Linked DNA regions of Homo sapiens: all the other regions are linked to region 3. The links are contacts of gene promoters, found by promoter capture Hi-C in blood cells and fetal thymus (Javierre and others, 2016). All regions are on one chromosome and are shown on one strand. Each heading gives the region's core, a stretch centred on a gene start or on the middle of the fragment in contact. The rest is flanking DNA. Distances are from core to core; before and after follow the strand shown.

Region 1 (2,700 bases), core at 16-2,515, 62 kb before region 3:
TTGCTATGGAATTCTCTCTTAGGAATGTGTTTGCTGTAACTCTTGTTTTCTCAGAGATTATGTAGAATTATGTTCTTAAAGATATATGGTAGATTATCTTCTATTTTTCATAGGATTAGGTAGAATTGATGTTATTTCTTTAGATGGTATCTTTTGAGTTTTTTTTTTAGGAGTCAACATTTTAAATTATACATTTAATTCTGTGAATAGTTATGGGACAATTTAAAGTATCTCTATCGATGGGTGGAAGTGCTGTGTCTGTTGGTTTTTGTTTTGTTTTGAGACAAAGTCTCAGTCTGTCATTCAGTCTGGAGTGTGGTGACATAATCATGGCTCTCAATAGACTCAAACTCCTGAGCTCAGGTGAGCTTCCTGCCTCAGTATCCCAAGTAGCTGGGACCACAGCCACACACCACCATGCCAGGGTGCTGAGACCAGTTCAGTCGGGGAGACCCTAACCCAGCGGGCGCTGGAGGAATTAAAGACACACACACACAGATATAGAGGTGTGAAATGGGAAATCAGGGGTCTCAGCCTTCAGAGCTGAGTGCCCCGAACAGAGATTTACTCACATATTTATTAACAGCAAACCAGGCATTAGCATTGTTTCTATAGATATTAAATTAACTAAAAGTATCCCTTAAGGGAAACAAAGGGATGGGCCAAATTAAAGGAATAGGTTTGGTTAGTTAACTGCAGCAGGAACACGCCCTTAAGACACAGATCGCTCATGCTATTGTTTGTGGCTTAAAAACGTCGTTCAGCGGTTTTCCGCCCTGGGTGGGCCAGGTGTTCCTTGCCCTCATTCCCGTAAACCCACAACCTTCCAGCTTGGGCGTTAGGGCCATTATGAACATGTTACACTGCTGCAGAAATTTTGTTTATGGCCAGTCTTGGGGCCAGTTTATGGCCAGATTTTGGGGGGCTTGCTCCCAACACCATGGTAATTTTTTTTTTAAACTTATTTGTAGAGATGGTGTCTCACCATTTTGCCCAGGCTGGTTTTTAACTGGGCTCAAGCAGTCCTCCTGCCTCAGCCTCCCAAAGTGTTGAGGTTACAAGGGTGAGCCACCATGCCCAGCATCTGTGTGCTTTCTGAGAAATGTGTCCATTTTGTCAAAGATTCAAATTTATGTGTGTATAATTATTTATAGTATTCCCATATTGAGTGTGTATGTATGTGTGTGTAAGGTGTATAGGGTCTGTAAAGCAGAATACCCTGTTTTATCCTGATCATGATATTTATTTCTTCATCTTTGTCAGTCTTACTAGAAAGAGGTTGGTCAATTTTATCAATCTTTACACAACCATTCTGTGTTTCAATGACTTTTTTTTTTTTTTTTTTTAAGATGAAGTCTCACTGTGTTGCCCAGGCTGGAGTGCAGTGGCATACTCTTGGCTCACTGCAACCTCCGCATCCCAGGTTCAAGTGATTCTCCTGCCTCAGTCTGCCAAGTAGCTGGGATTACAGGCACCTGCCTCCAACCTGGCTAAATTTTGTATTTATTTTTAGTGGAGATGGGGTTTCACCATGTTGACCAGGCTAGCCTTGAACTCCTGATCTCAAGTGATCTGCTTGTGTTGGCCTCCCAAAGTGCTGCGATTACAGGTGGTGACCCACCATGTCCAGCCTGTTTCATTGATTTTTATCTATTGTTTCTCTTTTCTATTTGATAGATTTGTATACTTTATTTTTTTTCCTTTTGCTTGCTTTGGATTATTTTTGCCCTTCTCTATACAAGTTATTAAAATGGAAGTGTACATTATTGAAATGTATTCTCTTTTCCCATGTTTTAATTTAATGCCATAATTTTACCTGTCAGCACGCCTTCTCCTTTTACCTTCATCTGATCTGAAATGTGTTTTCAAATTTATCCAGCTCAATGTATTATTTTATTGTTTCTTGACACTTTTCCTTTAACCCTCTGATTATTGAAGGATTCTTGCTTGACCCAAGGGATAATCGTCCCAGTGTATGGAGATTTTCCTGTTATAATTTTCTTACTGATTTCTACTTTAGTTTTGTTGTAGTTTGGGAACACACTGGATTATTGTAATTCTTTTTTATTTGTTGAGTTTTGTTTGATGGCAGAGGAACCTTGAAAATAATGTGTATTTTGCATTTAGCAGAGTGTTCCATAAATGTTCATTAGATGGTTTTGGGTGATGGTGTTACTGAGAGGTCTCTTTTTTGTTGATTTTCTTTCTAGTTGTCTGGTGAATTTTTTTGATAAAGGATGTTGGCCTTTCGAACTATAATAGATTTGTCTTTTTCTTTTATATTTTTTAGGTTTTGCTTGACATATTTTCAGTTCTGTTTCTTGCTGCATGGACAGTTCAGATTGCTGTTTCTTCTAGGTTGTTTTATTTAGCATTATACAATATCCTTTACATCGCTGATAATTTTATCTTCTCTAGTCTACTTTATCTGGTAATATATCTATCCACTCCTGTTCTGCTTTTCACTTTTGAACTTTTCAGCCTGTCTGTACTTTTATATGAAAGTGAGTTTCTTGTAGATAGTAAATATGTGGAGCATGTTGTTAAATCTACACTGCTAATCTCCATATTTTAGTTGGTGCATTTAAACGATTTAGTGTTTACATTTAGTGTTAATTTTTGATATGTTCATAGTTTTCTTGGAACCAAGCCAGGTCTGGCTGCATTTTCTCATGGCCTAATAACTAGAAGCAGACAAAC
Region 2 (2,700 bases), core at 148-2,647, 41 kb after region 3:
GGATAGCACTTGTCCTGAAGTCATCAAGGTGTACATTTTTAAAGCTGACCCTGGAGAAGATGACTTAGGTAAGAGGAAGCTGTCAGCATTTTATACATTGTCATCCAAATGTTTCAACCAAATGGTGTCAAAAAAAGTAAACAGGTTACTTTTTTTCATTGATACTTAACATTTAGTTTAGGTTATTTAGATTGGAAAATTTGAACTCTTTTCCAAAGACAACTTTTAAGACATATTTTTGAGTTAGTAATATAAAAATACACTAAAACGTGTAAGCAAAATATGTGAAAATGAACTCTCAAATAATTTTTGGAGCTTTCATATTCTCTGATAGGTGGAACTGTAGACATTGTGGAGAGTGAACCTGAAAATGATCATGGAGTTGAACTACTTGATCAGAACAGCAGTATTCGTGTTCCCAGGGAAAAGATGGTTTATATGACTGTCAATGACTCTCAACAAGAAGATGAAGATTTAAGTATGTGGCTTTTTAAAAAAAAATTTTTACTTTAAGTTCTGGGGTACATGTGCTGAATGTGCAGATTTGTTACATAGATATACATGTGCCATGGTGGTTTGCTGCACCTATCAACCCATCATCTAGGCTTTTAAGCCCCCCATCCATTAGGTATTTGTCCTAATGCTCTCTCTCCCCTTGCACCCCACCCCACAGTGGGCCCCAGTGTGTGATGTTCCCCTCCGTGTGTCCATGTGTCCTCATTGTTCAGCTCCCACTTACGAGTGAGAACATGTGACGTTTGGTTTTCTGTTCTTGTGTTAGTTTGCTGAGGATGATGGTTTCCAGCTTCATCCATGTCCCTGCAAAGGACATGAGCTTATTCTTTTTTATGGCTGCATAGTATTCCATGATGTATATGTGCCAGTATGTGGCTTTTTTTGTGGGAGAGGGTTTTATGTTTCTACAAGGTGTGTTTTTTTTTTTTTTTTGAGACAGAGTCTTATTCTGTTGCCAGGCTGGATGGAGTGCAGTGGAGCAATCTCCGCTCACTGCAGCTTCCACCTCCTGGGTTCAAGCAGTTCTCCTGCCTCAGCCTCCCAAGTAGCTGAGACTACAGGCACGTGCCACCACACCCAGCTAATTTTTGTATTTTTAGTAGAGATGAGGGTTTCACCATGTTGGCCAGGATGGTCTCGATCTCTTGACCTCGTGATCCGCCCACCTTGGTCTCCCAAAGTGCTGGGATTACAGGCGTGAGCCACTGTGCCCTGCCCAAGCTGTCGTCTTTTTTTTTAATGTAACCAATATTTGAAAAAAAATAAGCAGCGCTGTTGTAGAGATTACTGTGTTGCCGTATTCCAAGAATAGATATCAGTGACTATGTATGTTTTGATAGTTGCTTTATAAACTAATTATGGTGAAAGCCAAGAAACGAATAATTCAACCAATGTTTATTTTTTCCTACTAATGAATTTTTTCTGTGTGATCTCTGTAAACCTAGTCACAAAAAATTTTTTATTTATTTTGTGCTTAGATGTTGCTGAAATTGCTGATGAAGTTTATATGGAAGTGATCGTAGGAGAGGAGGATGCTGCTGTTGCAGCAGCAGCAGCTGCTGTGCATGAGCAGCAAATTGATGAGGATGAAATGAAAACCTTCGTACCAATTGCATGGGCAGCAGCTTATGGTAACTTACATAGAAGCCAGAAGGATTGAGTAGTTTTTGAACATTAATTCACTGTTGAAAGTGGTTTCTGTTGGCCAGGCGTGGTGGCTCATGTCTGTAATCCCAGCACTTTGGGAGGCTGAGGCAGGCGGATCACGAGGTCAGGAGATTGAGACCATCCTGGCTAACATGGTGAAACCCTGTCTCTACTAAAAAATATTTTTAAAAAATTAGCCAGACGTGGTGGCAGGCACCTGTAATCCCAGCTACTGAGGAGGCTGAGGCAGGAGAATGGCGTGAACCTGGGAGGTGGAGCTTGCAGTGAGCTGAGATTGCGCCACTGCACTCCAGCCTGGGCAGCAGAGCAAGACTCCATCTCAAAAAAAAAAAAAAAAAAAAAAAAAAAAAAAAAAAAAAGGGTTTTTTTTAGGGTTTCATGATTTAAGCAAAAGTAGAGGAGGATTAAATAGTCTCCCTGTTGCCTTTAATTTTAACATGAACTTCTTTTATTATGTAAGAAGTGTGGGAGCTTTCAGTCTAACATTTTAAATCTTGGTTTATAGGTGACACATAACTTTACAATTTTTGGGAGATAGCAGGGAGTCCAGTAGAGCAGCATGCTGCTAGATACGGAAGCTAGGCACTTCCCCTGGTCTTGCCATATATATGCCCATAAAACACATGGTCTACAATTGGGGGCCAGGTGTGGCTCTTGCCTGTAATCCCAGCACTTTGGGAGTCTGAGGCAGGTGGATGACCTGAGGTCAGGAGTTCAAGATCAGCCTGGCCAATATGGTGAAACCTCCTCTCTACTAAAAATACAAAAAAATGAGATGGGTGTGATGGCGTTGTTCCTGTAATCCCAGCTATTCAGGATGCTGAGGCAGGATAATCACTTGAACCTGAGAGGAGGAGGTTGCAGTGAGCCAAGATTACACCTCTGTACTCCAGCCTGGGTGACAGAGCAAGACTCTGTCTCAAAAAAAAAAAAAAAAAAAAAAAAAAAAGAATAAAAATAAATAAAGTAAGGACTTTCTGTCATTCATGAGTGTCAGGACTTCTTGTTGTTAATAAA
Region 3 (2,700 bases), core at 19-2,518:
CTGAGTTTTAAAAATAGGTATGCTAGAAAACTGAAATACCTGGCCTCTACATTTAGAGATTACCGGCTCTGGCCCACAGGCTGCAGTGCAGTGGCTTGATCACAGCTGTCCGCCTGTATCTGCTGGCCTCAAGCGATACTCCAGCCTTGTCCTCCCAAAGCGCTCAGAGGTGAGCGACCGCGATAGGCATGTTTAACTTTTTAGTAGCAACTTTTAAACACAGTTTGGGTACCTAGTTTAATGGGAAATTAGAGTGCATTAAAACGTAAAGTAATGAAAACGCACAATACACGTTTTTGGAGTTCATCAGTACTATCTGTTTAATCAAATGCATTTTCCTCTCAGTCTCTAAAGCCTTTTTAAACTTTAAGAGGATAAATAATTTTGTAAGAAGACAATCCCAAAACCAATTGTTAGTTTACATTTATTAAAGGGTGTGCATAATTCATTGTTCATGAGACAATTACACAAAACTGACATTTCAAGGATGCCAAAAGATGAAACACTGCCATAAAGAACACACACTAGACATTACAAATCTTGGTCAAAATACCTACGTTAACGCAAAAAAAAAAATCAATTGGCTCAGTAATTGATTAGGATAATCCTCCCCTCCTCTTGCCTGTACACTGTGGCAAGTCCATTTACTTTCTTTTTTTTTTTTTTTAAAGCCAACAAAGGAGACAGTGGGGAATGCTATATGTCTGTATCTGCTTTCCTCCTCAACCCTAGGAATAAAGTAAACACGTTTACTGAGGGCGGGGGTCTAAGGGCCTGCAACAATGAGATCTGTCGCCTTGGCTAGGACTGGCGCCGAGAGGCGATAGGTCTCGGGAGAGCCTGGCGCAGGGTGTGGGAGATTAGGAATCCCAGGTCCACCGGAGATGGCAGGGGGTGGCCTGGCCCGGTGCGGGGCCGCTTGCCTGCACGCAACCAACTAAGGCGGTGGTGCGCAAGTAGTGGTGACGGCGGGCGCGCGGAGAAAAGGAACGTTGTGACGGAAACTCCAGCTGCCGGAGACCCCACCGCAGTGAGGTCACTGGACTCCCCGGACTCGGGGCGTGACCGGCGCCGACCCGGGGCGCCGAGAGGCCCACCGGGCGGAGGGGGCCCAACTACCATCCCGCATTTTCCTGGGTCTCTCTCCCGGGCGGTGACGTGACGTGCTGACGGCGGGCCCGTGCCGGGGAGCTGGGCCGCTTTTTGTCAGCTCCGAACTCGGCCCCTCCTCCCTCCCTCCGCCCGCCCTACCAGCCGGAGCCCGGCCCAGTGCTCCAGAGAAAGGCCGTCCTGCAGCACCCGCCGCTGTCGCCGACCGCCCGCACATCCGTCGGGTGAGTCCCGCGTGCCCCCGCGGCCGCGGGGCCTAGTGCGCGCGCAGTAACCTGTTTGTGGCCTGGTCGGCGTCCCGTAGGGCGCCCTCCCGCGCTAGGCCGGCCGGCGTGGCGCTCGGCGCCGAACAGGCCCCGAGGAGGCCGCAGTTAGGCCTAGTGATTATCCAGTTGCCCTGAGCGGCTGCGGAGGTGCGCTCCATAAGCGGGCAGGGTGGGAAAAGTTCGCCCGTTTGTCCGGAAGGCAGTTGATGGACCTGGGGTCGACACCACTGCGGACGCAGGGCACGGCACGGGGGCGAGAAGGCGAAGGCTGCAGGCGTGAGGTGAAGGCCGGAGGCCTGCTGGGCCTATTTTCGCTATGTAAATGTCCGCGAAGGGGAGGAGGGACGGGGGGGCAAGATGGCGGCTGCTAGGCGCCTGCTGCTGGGGAGTATTGAGAGTGTTGTCGGGAGGCGGAGCCGCCATCTTGAAGGCGGTATCTGGAAAAAAAATTCGGTTATGATCCTTGAGGCGGGGATGGGGAAAAGGACGGCGGCGGCGGCGGCAGCGCAGCCTCCGGCGCGACGGCGTGTCTGCGCAACAGGGCGTGCTCGTTCCCTTGGCGGCCCTTGCCTTTGTCGCCATATGCGCGCGTACGTTCCAGACGCCTGCGGCAGCGCCACCTTTCGGCCTTCCCCTCACAGCCCATCCTTGGCTGGGTGCAGTGTCGGCTACGCTTTAGGTGACATGCCGCAGGCGTCCGTTCGGGCGCCGGGGTCATTTCGCCCCTCAGCGCTCCCGGCTCTGTGCCCTTCCGAGAGTCTACAGCCACCCGTTTCAGCAGGTGGCAATTCGGGCATCTAGGCTCACGAGAGCACATAAATTCCAGAAAATTTTATTTTCCCCTAATTAAAGTCATTATGTGGCTGTTCGGGGACCTTCGATGCGCTTATTTTTCAACCATCATTGCCTCTTCGAGGATCTGCAAAATAGAACTGGAATTTATTATGAAAAAGTTATTAGGCACTCGTCCAATAGACAGTACAGTACAAATTATACAGCACGAGGGCAGAGGAATAAAATTTCCCCAAGGCGACTTTTCCCATTTATGTGGAAACACTTTTTTGATGAGCTGTATTTAAACGAGCGAGCTTTTTTTTAGTCCGTGTACTTTTTTTGAGTAAGAGATGGAAAATAGGCAGAAGAGGTATTTTTCTTTTTGAAAGACAATTCATGCATTACTTGTAGGTTCATATACCCATGATGACATTGAGATTTTATTTGAAATTTCTTATACAGTTTCATCTTCAAAATACTTTTGTTAGCATTTTGTACAACTTTGCTGGAAAATTGGAGCACAGTAATGTGAGCGTTGGACAGTGCTAGG
Region 4 (2,700 bases), core at 183-2,682, 38 kb before region 3:
AGGCTTTAAATCAGGCAAGGCACAAACTATTAATAGTGCTTTGGGCAGCCCTCAGACAAGCCAACACTTTGAAAATGAGTTTCACTCCTTTTCTTATGTCTTGAGGAGAGGAACTGGGAAAAGGTGTCACTGCACCAGACTGCATGTTGTAGATGGTGGGGCAAAAGCGAGCAAAAATGCCTTTCATGTTTCAGTTTTTAGTATTTCCAGGCTCAAAGGACTGTGGTACCAGTAGAAATTTCCTGCCATTATGAGTGTGCTTTTTCTTGAGTGAATACCTTGTTAGTTGTAGAAGATCCGTAACTACTTTCTAAATTTCCCACAGACTACTTTGGTCAGTATATTGTTGTTTACTTGGTATTTCTGTTGTGAGCACAAGGACTTACAGACTTCAAGTCTCCAACTCTTCTGATTTTTCTTCTTCTCTTATATTTTTACAATTGTAGCTTTTACCCATGTTAAAGTGAGTTTTGTTTTTCCTAAATGATTGGCCTGGTTATTGGCCAGAACAAACTTGAAGAACATAGCATAGTTTGCTCTGCTATTAAGACTAATATGCTTATGAAAAATATGATCTTCCAGTTCTTTACTTATTTTCATTTAAAGCTATTCTAATCTTTTCAGCTCCTGACAAGCTTAGGAAAGCATTTTTGCATTTTTAAAGGAGAAAAGAATATATAATGAAATTTTTAAAAAATTAGGCTGAGTTGTTTTGTGTATTGTCATGGCTTCTTAAAGGGACTTAGAGTGCTCTTTATTGGCTGGTTTCTAATATCATAGGAATATCATAATGTTCCTAATGTGTAGAAATATTATGATAGAGGAAGATAAGCATATATATAGTGGCAACATTTTGCTGGCTTTCTTTCTTATATATGCTGACCAGAACTTATCTGAAGAGATAATACAGACCTTTATGTATACGAGGGCATATAATGAGAACAAATTTAAATTTAGAATTATGCAGGTTAAACCAGTTATGTCATGATTGTGTGGCAATGCTGACCAAATGGATTTAAAATTTATGTCTTCATTTACATTCATTTTGCAATTTAATTGGATGGGGTCGGAACAGAAGAGGAATGACCATCAAGCCAAAAGTAGATGGTGACTGAAGAATCAAAATTAAATGTATTTTGATGAAGTCAGAATTTCTCTTAGCAACTTCGGGTTACATACTTAAAGCAAAATTAGTTTTTTTTTTGGTGACAGAAATTCAACTTCTACTACTTAAATAGTAGAATCTAAAATAAATGTCAAACTTGGCATATTGGTGAATTTAATCTACATTTTAGCATACTTTGATCATTGCTAAACATTTCCAGATTTGTAGATTCATGCAGTTTTGAAATGAAATTGCTTATTACAACTGGCCCTTGCCTTACCACAAATACCACTGGACCTAGTTGAAATGAAGTTTTTCTTTTTATTTTTTCATGATTCAGTTTTTAGTATGTCCAGGCTTGAAGGACTGTGGTACCAGTAGAAACTGGGAAGACAAAAACTGTCTTTCAGAACTGGCTCCTGTTTTGCCCCATGTATGCTACCTTGCCTTATCTTTAAAATTTATGGTGAAAATGAAATTAATAGGATCCAATTAATTTTTTTAATTTTGAGTTGGAGCATGAGCACTAATATACATAAAGAGACTTCCAGAACTCCCTTGACTCTATTCTTAGATTGCAAAATTGGAAGGTGAAGACAGTTCTAGTCACCTTCTCCCTGATGCCCTACACTTATTTCTCATTGGTTACTCCTAAAATTCAACAGTCTTTTCTTATTGGAAAATATGGTGACAAACACCAAATGCTTCTACATAAGTAATGAGGATCTTTCCAGTTCTTTTATATTTTGTCTTAACTAATTAATTGATAATCTTAGAAAACAGATTCTAATCCTAGCATTTGTTTCTGCTATGAAATAGCAAGTATTTGTCTTTTTTCTTAAAATAATCATGTGAAGTTATTAATGCTTGAAAAAATTGGAGCTTGTAGAAGGCAAGATCCTGATATTTTATTTTAAACAAATAATACCCCAAGTTAAGCAAATTATAGTTTTATTTAATGATTCATTTTTATTAGGCAACAAATAGTGAATGATTGTGAGTCTATTTATAATTGACTTTTTGATTAGCTAGTCAATAACTAGTGTTTAGAAAATTGGTAGTTTGGGATATTATAGACTGAATGGCTCAAAAGGATCTTTTGAATTGTTGATTATATTGTGAAAAGAAGCTTGAGGATGGCATTAACATTTAAGCTCTTGGAGGCACAGGGACCATAAATTTCTTTTAAGAGCAATTAGGTGTGGTTTTCCCCCTGGATAAATACATTAAGCCAAGCAGTTTTGCATATGATTTTACTGGTCTCACAGAGCCTTAGGAGTCATCCCATAAATGTCACATTAATTAGGATTCATATAATTTAAGCATTTCACAATGTACATCTATATCAGAACATGACATTTTACAATGCTTGTAAACTGTATCTTAATTAATTAATTAATTAAATTAAATTTTTTTTTGAGACAGAGTCTCACTCTGTCTCCATGGCTGGAGTGCAGTGGCATGATCTCAGGTCACTGCAACCTTTACCTACTGGGTTTAAGCAATTCTCCTGCCTCAGCCTCCTGAGTAGTTGGGATTACAGGTGCACACCACCACGCCCAGCTAATTTTTGTGTTTTTAGTGGAGAGGAGGTT

Evidence for each region. The method cuts DNA at HindIII sites, captures the fragments that hold promoters and counts their contacts. A CHiCAGO score of 5 or more calls a contact.
Region 1: a contact is called between a fragment that was not itself captured here and the fragment with the promoter of ZFY in region 3, in 9 of 17 cell types (naive CD4 T cells, naive CD8 T cells, total CD8 T cells and 6 more). The highest score is 10.9, in naive CD4 T cells.
Region 2: a fragment that was not itself captured here is called in contact with the fragment with the promoter of ZFY in region 3 in 14 of 17 cell types (naive CD4 T cells, non-activated CD4 T cells, neutrophils and 11 more); the score reaches 13.5 in naive CD4 T cells.
Region 4: a contact is called between a fragment that was not itself captured here and the fragment with the promoter of ZFY in region 3, in 13 of 17 cell types (M0 macrophages, naive CD4 T cells, naive CD8 T cells and 10 more). The highest score is 10.4, in M0 macrophages.

Annotation. Positions count from the first base shown.
Region 1 is chrY:2,871,734-2,874,433 of GRCh38, forward strand. No RefSeq gene overlaps it. Among named protein-coding and RNA genes, the nearest start is that of RPS4Y1, 31 kb to the left of the region's middle. The HindIII fragment of the contact is 6,134 bases long and covers 1-2,700 here.
Region 2 is chrY:2,975,177-2,977,876 of GRCh38, forward strand. It overlaps ZFY (zinc finger protein Y-linked), which reads left to right. Exons shown (of 8, transcript NM_003411.4): 4 at 1-68; 5 at 335-478; 6 at 1,494-1,646. The region is part of intron 2 of ZFY-AS1 (ZFY antisense RNA 1); the gene reads right to left. Among named protein-coding and RNA genes, the nearest start is that of ZFY-AS1, 26 kb to the right of the region's middle. The HindIII fragment of the contact is 3,777 bases long and covers 1-2,700 here.
Region 3 is chrY:2,934,113-2,936,812 of GRCh38, forward strand. ZFY (zinc finger protein Y-linked) reads left to right here and starts at 1,269. Exons shown (of 8, transcript NM_003411.4): 1 at 1,269-1,657. The HindIII fragment of the contact is 5,223 bases long and covers 1-2,700 here.
Region 4 is chrY:2,896,134-2,898,833 of GRCh38, forward strand. No RefSeq gene overlaps it. Among named protein-coding and RNA genes, the nearest start is that of ZFY, 38 kb to the right of the region's middle. The HindIII fragment of the contact is 1,599 bases long and covers 634-2,232 here.